Linked DNA regions of Homo sapiens: region 2 is linked to region 1. Evidence: promoter capture Hi-C in 16 types of primary human blood cells and fetal thymus (Javierre and others, 2016). All regions are on one chromosome and are shown on one strand. Each heading gives the region's core, a stretch centred on a gene start or on the middle of the fragment in contact. The rest is flanking DNA. Distances are from core to core; before and after follow the strand shown.

The links. The method cuts DNA at HindIII sites, captures the fragments that hold promoters and counts their contacts. A CHiCAGO score of 5 or more calls a contact.
Region 2: a contact is called between a fragment that was not itself captured here and the fragment with the promoter of LINC03041 in region 1, in 1 of 17 cell types (M1 macrophages). The highest score is 6.5, in M1 macrophages.

The regions. Positions count from the first base shown.
Region 1 is chr9:16,274,434-16,277,758 of GRCh38, reverse strand. It overlaps LINC03041 (long intergenic non-protein coding RNA 3041), which reads left to right and starts at 1,446. Exons shown (of 4, transcript NR_171034.1): 1 at 1,446-1,528. The HindIII fragment of the contact is 10,629 bases long and covers 1-3,325 here.
Region 2 is chr9:16,589,661-16,592,849 of GRCh38, reverse strand. The region is part of intron 3 of BNC2 (basonuclin zinc finger protein 2); the gene reads left to right. Among named protein-coding and RNA genes, the nearest start is that of BNC2-AS1, 140 kb to the left of the region's middle. The HindIII fragment of the contact is 212 bases long and covers 1,406-1,617 here.

The DNA of each region.
Region 1 (3,325 bases), core at 197-2,696:
TGTTGTTCTGATTTATGTCTCTGAATCCTGAGAAGCGGTTTGCGGCCACATTGGGGTGACACCTGCTAACTTTGCTGCTGGTGCTGCTGCCGCCGCCGCTGCTGCTGTGAGTGCTGAAGTCAGCTGAACCAGACCAGTAAGGGGCCAGCAGATGCGCAGATGTTTCTTGGGTGGCGAGAGTTATTTTTTGTTAAGTCTATCTTATTTATTTATTTATTTTTGCAACATTTTCTTTCCTGATTACTAAAGTAATTGCTGTTTGGGGATGGTGGGGACATTGTCTGAATTTTTAATTTAAAAAGTAGTAAAGGACAATTTGTAGTAGGGGACAATTTGAAACAGAGGTCCCTGTTTTGTGTGTGTGTGTGTGTGTGTGCATGCGTGTGTGTGTGTGTCTATTTCTTGCTCCCTCCCTATCTCTTTCTGTCTGTATCTTACAATCTTAGGTCCTCTGTCTGTCTTCCTTCTTCTGTATGTATCTCTCTGTTCTCAGTAACCCAGCAGAGCACGTTGTGGCCCTCTGTACCCCCAGCACTGTCCCCACAACTGAGCACTTTGCCACTTAACTCTTGGTGGCTTGGGCGGCTGGGTCCACGGGCTCCTTTGAGGTTAGGAGCACCCCAGGGTGTGAGCTTTCCAAGACCACTTTCTCCCGGAGGCTGCAGGAACGGCCTCACTGCCATGCCGCTTTCAGCTGCTGTGATTCAGTGTCTCTGGTCTGCAGATCAGCTGGGCGATTCTCCCGTCAGCCCACATTGATTTTCCTGTAGATTACATTACCTCCAATCACAAAAGAAATTGTGCTTTCTCTCCTGGAGTGTCAGGGCAAAATGAATAGCAAACATTTTCCTGCAGGCAGCTCAGCTTTTCTGTCAAAGCCCACTTGAGCAGGCAGAGCACCGTCCTTGCTCCCCGAACCCCCAAATCTTTTCTCTCCAACTCAGTGGAAAAGTTTCTGGGATGAGGTGGGACATCAGATGCAACTTGGAACGCACAAGATATCCAATTATGCCTCAGTGAGATCCTTCGGTATCTTAAGACCTTCTAAATTATGGAATTAAGAGGGTTTAGAGGGGGAAAAGAGCGGGTGACACCAGATGTGTTAAGAATTTAGAATGTGCTTCTTCATATATTAAAAAAGACTCTTTGAATATCATCAAAGAGATTGAGCAATTTTTATTCCTTTTAAAAGTACTGATTGGGGTCTCTGGTCTCTGGCTGGTATGTGTGTGTGTGTGAGTGTGTCGGGAGGCTGTATCACAAGGGCCTCTCTTTCTACGCTTGGTTGGTGCCAGGTCCACTTTCTGAAACCCTGGCATGCAGGGCGAGCCTTGCTTGTGTGGGCGGCTTTGGCACGGAGTCCTGGCACGGTGGATGAAGAGAAGCGTCAGCACTTTTCAAACAACTAACTAGCAGCAGAAGGCGGGCGCCAATCTCCAAAGTGGGCTTTGTGGGAGAGAGGTCTGTGTCTGGGCAAACAACCTGCTTGTAGAGGCTGGAAGAGGAAAAGGCCAAAGACACCTGAAAAGTAAGAGAGAATCTTCTCTAGGGACACTGGGGAGCCACATAAACACACGTGCCTGCCCAGTTGAGCATGGGTTTCTGTGTATCCCACGTGTGTGTCATGAGATACTTATAGCAAGAATTTTCATTGATAACTTAGCCAATGTTTATTGAACAACAACCATGGGCCAGACACTGGGTCAATGCTCTACCTATCATTGACCTATCTTTTCACTTGTCATCTAAATTGAATCCTCGCAGTGGGAAAGGCAGTGTCATCCCTGTTGACGTGATCTGGAAACAGTGCGTTAGAGAGTATAGGAGACTTGCCAAGGTATTATGGATTGAATTGTGTCCCTGACCCCAAGAAATGTGTTGAAATCCTAACCTTCCCCACCTGTGAATGTGACGTTATTTGGAAAAAGGGTCTTTGTGGATGATCAAGTTAGGAAGGAGTCATTAGGATGGGTCCTGATCCAATATGACTGGTAGAAAAACCAGGGAGATTTGGACACAGAGGGAAGACCATGTGAAGACTCAGGGAGAAGAGGAAGGACAGCCATCTGTAAGCCAAGGAATGCCAGCGATTTCTAGGAGGGAGGCCTAGACGAGATCCTTCCCCCACAGTCCTCAGAAAGAGCCAACCCTGCCAACAGCCTGATAGCGAACTTTTAGCTTCCAGAACCATGAGACAATATATGTTTGTTGTTGAAGCCACTTAGCCTGTGATACTTTGTATGGGAGCCCCAGGAAGTAACTACACAAGCTCACCCAAACTGTGGGTGGTGGAGCTGGTGTGTATGTGTCCAGGCCCTGCCTGTCCCCGCAGTTATGCAGTGTAGCCTGCACACTGCTGGTTTCCTTGATGAGGGCCCAGCCAGTGCCTGGATGTGCTCCCGTGGGCCTTGGATGTTTAGGAGTTGGTATGTTGGGATGGTTTGGGGGCAGAGGCCAAAGGGAGACTTTATGATGAATCTAGCGTCTTATATATACTTTTGCTTACAGGTCTAGGAATCTGCTAATTTTATCATTTATATAAAGAACCTTAAAATGTGTATATCTTTTGACCTATTGCTAGAAATCTATTAAAATAATGATAAAAATGGTGACATATTTCTGTAGAATTATATATCATAGTACTACTTACGAAACAGGTAGGAACGTTCCACATCCCAGGAATGTATGAAATGCCACATTTCCATATTTTCTAAAGTGAAATGAAATCTGATAGAAGTTGACACTAGCCAAGGGTGGTGAGAAGAACTCTGAATTCCTCTACCCCAGCTGGGTTGGCAGAACCTCTCTAGCCATAGTGTGTGGTGTCAGCCACATAGACAGCCACGTAGCAGTGCCCATCTGAGGTCACCCAGAGCATCGGGCTCAGATAGGGCCATATCTCCACCATAGGTCACAGTTCAAGTCTTATTTCTTTCCCCAGTCTTGGGGAGTCATTTAGCCAGGGAGGAGCCCATCTGTTAAACGTCTGCAGCCCACATCATTCATCCTCTTCCTTGGACGATGTAGTCTATAGGTGTCAAGGGCCTCTGTTTTTGAAACACAAAGCTCTCTCACAAAGTACCATAATCTCCTTTAAATAAGCAAAATAACCTTTCAGAAGTACATTTTCTCTCTCTCTCAGGGGTTATAGCACAGCAGTTGTTGAGAAAGATGTTTCATCTTTCTTTCATGTGACCACAGGAGTCAAAACAAACACAAATAACAAAACAACACAACTTCCAAATAACAAATCCCTAACACAAATAATGGCTACATTTAAATGCCCAATCATTCAGACTCATTACATTGATTATAATCCAAACAC
Region 2 (3,189 bases), core at 262-2,761, 320 kb before region 1:
TATTAACTCACTTAGCATTTGTGTATTGGAGACCTACTGGGCAAAAGATGTGCTGCATTATGTCTCCTGGGGAATGATATCTTATGGGATTAAATGGTTTTAACACCACTAAAAGAAAGTAGGTGGGGCAGTGGGATTCCTCCCACCCTTTCCCTGTTTTAAACAGCTTGATTGAGATATGTTTCACTTACCATACATTCCACCCATTTAAAATACTCACTGTATTTTACTATATTTATGGTTAGGTTCAGTTATCACTGAACATTTTTATCACCTCAAAAAGAAACTCCATGCCCTTTAGCTGTCACCCTAAGCCTCATCCCCCACAAGGCAGCCACTAATCTACTTTTTATCATTACATATTTCCCTCTTCTGAACATTTCATCTGAATGGAATAATAATATTTGGTCTTTTATGACTGGCTCCTGCAACTCAGCTTAGTGTTTTTCATGTTCATTCATGTTGTAGTATGTATCCGTGGTTCATTCCTTTTTATGGCCAAATAAAATTTCATTATATTAATATACTGAATTTTGTTTATCCATTTGTCAGTGGATGGAGGGATAGCGTTTTATAAAATGAAGTTTTAAATCTCCTGATTTTTAACATCATTTGATGTTCAAAGGTCAACTTTTCCCAGTGAATCTCTTTCGATTATTTTGGATGTGTTTATTGTGAAGATGATGTATTTCTTTGGTTCATAACATTTTTCTCAAGGTTTTTTTTGGGGGGAGGGGAGGGGTGGTTAACCATCTTTAAATTGCCCAGCTTTTTGTCTTTTACCATGTTGCCTGCAGTTTAAACCAATGGTACCTGGCCTTTTAGTGAGTCCAGCAAACCCAGGCTCTTGCGAATCTCCTGTCTCAGTTATAAGATCTAATGTGTTTTTTCGTTGAGAAGACACCAAGAAATTTCAGAACACATTAAGTACAACAAAATAATCATTTTTTACCAGCTTGCTATTTCTTCATATGACATTAAAAACAATTAGACAAATGTAAGGACCTTTCTTTGAATTGTTAATTAATTTTTAATTTTCTGGTTACCACCAAATAAGAGACATACTTTTAGGTATAATTTTCCATCATATGAATGTTTGAGTAGATTTTTTTAAGGAGACAGAATAACTTCATTGTTTCTCATTTGCTGCTGTTACTATTACATTAGGAGTAGTGACATTTGCACTATGGTTTAACATGCTTGTGGACCCTTAACATTTATAATCAGTTTTATAATCACTGATAATCATAGCATGTAAATTCTGTGTGCATTGTTCATTCAGACTTAGATTTATGTATTTCTTTGTATAAATGGAGAAAACATACCCACCTTACTAAAACTATAGATTTATATTAATACTCTCATGGTCAGAATTAGATAGACGTTTTAGGTTGTTAATAAAGCTTTTTTGTGGGATGTTTAAAACCGTAGATCTTTTGACCCATGTTCTGTATCTTTCTGACTCACCTCTTCCTTGTCTCCTTTTGATACTTGGTTGCAAAACTCTTCAGTACAACAGGTGGATATTCTTTTACATTCGTCATAGATGAGTTTTGTAATCAAGTACAAGTGAAATTGATATGTAGTCTTGTAGTTCATGCTGGTCTTAAGTAAGCTTAGTAGTTGTCCACCGTGCAAGAAAAAATGCAGAATTTTTTCGCTCAAGCTGTATTGTGATGTGGCCAGTTAGGAAGCTGATTTCTTCTCCCAAGGCAGTATTATATAAATTCTGAAAATTATACAGGGAGATATTTGCTGACTTAATCACCATTACTATCATGTGAGTTTTTTAGTCTTTGTGGCAATGTTTGAAGTACTGTCTTAGCATATCATACACAACCTATATAAAAGTGCTTGTTTCATCTTTTTGGTCATGTTTATAAGATCACTCTCTGCATCCACAATGCTAGCAAGCCATTAGTTTGTTTATTGCAGTGTATTCTATGGCAATCCTGGAATAATTAGCTTTCAGATTCATTACAGATAATTTGCTATTCCAGATTTTCGTCCACTAGGATAGACGTCTTTTGTGTGTGTGTGTGAGATGAAGGTCTCACTCTTCCATCCAGGCTGGGAGTGCAGTGGTATGATCATGGTTTACTGCATCCTTGACCTCTGAGGCTCAAGCAGTCTTCCCGCCTCAGCCTCCCGCGTAGCTAGAACCACAGGTGCATGCCACCACGCCCGGCGAATTTTTCATATTTTTATAGAGACGAGGTTTCGCCATGTTGTCCAGGCTGGTCTTTGGCTCAAGCTATGTGCTCTCCTCGGCCTCCCAAATTGCTGAGATTACAGGCATGAGCCACTATTCCCTGCTAGGATAGAAATGTCTTTGAAGAACAAATTTTCTTTTTTTAAGCCAGGCACAGTGGCTCATGCCTGTAATCCTAGCACTTTGGGAGGCCGAGGCAGGTGGATCACATGAGGTCAAGAATTCAAGAACAGCCTGGCCAACATGGTGAAACCCTGTCTCTACTAAAAATACCAAAATTAGCCAGCCATGATGGTGGGCGCCTGAAATCCCAGCTACGTGGGAGGCTGAGGCAGGAGAATCTCTTGAACCTGGGAGGCGGAGGTTGCAGCGAGCCAAGATTGTGCCATTGCACTCTAGCCTGGGCAACAAGAGCAAAACTCTGTCTCAAAAAGAAAAATTAAAAAAAAATTTCTTCTTTTCCCTCCATTAGAGCATTTTATTAATTATTGTGATGCATTTTCTTTTACCGCTGTACATACTGGCTAATTTTTATATTTTTTGTAGAGACCGGGTTTTGCCATGTTGCCCAGGCTGGTCTCGAACTCCTGGGCTCAAGCCATCCTCCTGCCTCAGCCTCCCAAAGTGCTGGGATTACAGGTTTAAGCCACCACACCTGAGTGGCTGCTTATGTTAATGACTAGCTTTTTCTATAATTTAATATTAATGTAGGTCATGTACTTAACTATTAAGCATTTTAAAATATTTTAAAATTTCATAATTCATATTGTAAATCTTGCTATACTCTCCAGAAATTAACAAGGGGAAAGAAGAGTTAAAAAGGTTTTTAGGGCCAGGCACCGTGGCTTACGCCTGTAATTCCAGCACTTTGAGAGGCCGAGGCGGGTGGATCACGAAGTCAGGAGTTTGAGACCAGCCTGACCAACATGGTGAAACCCTGTCTCTACTAAAAATATAAAAAATTAGCCCGGTGTGGT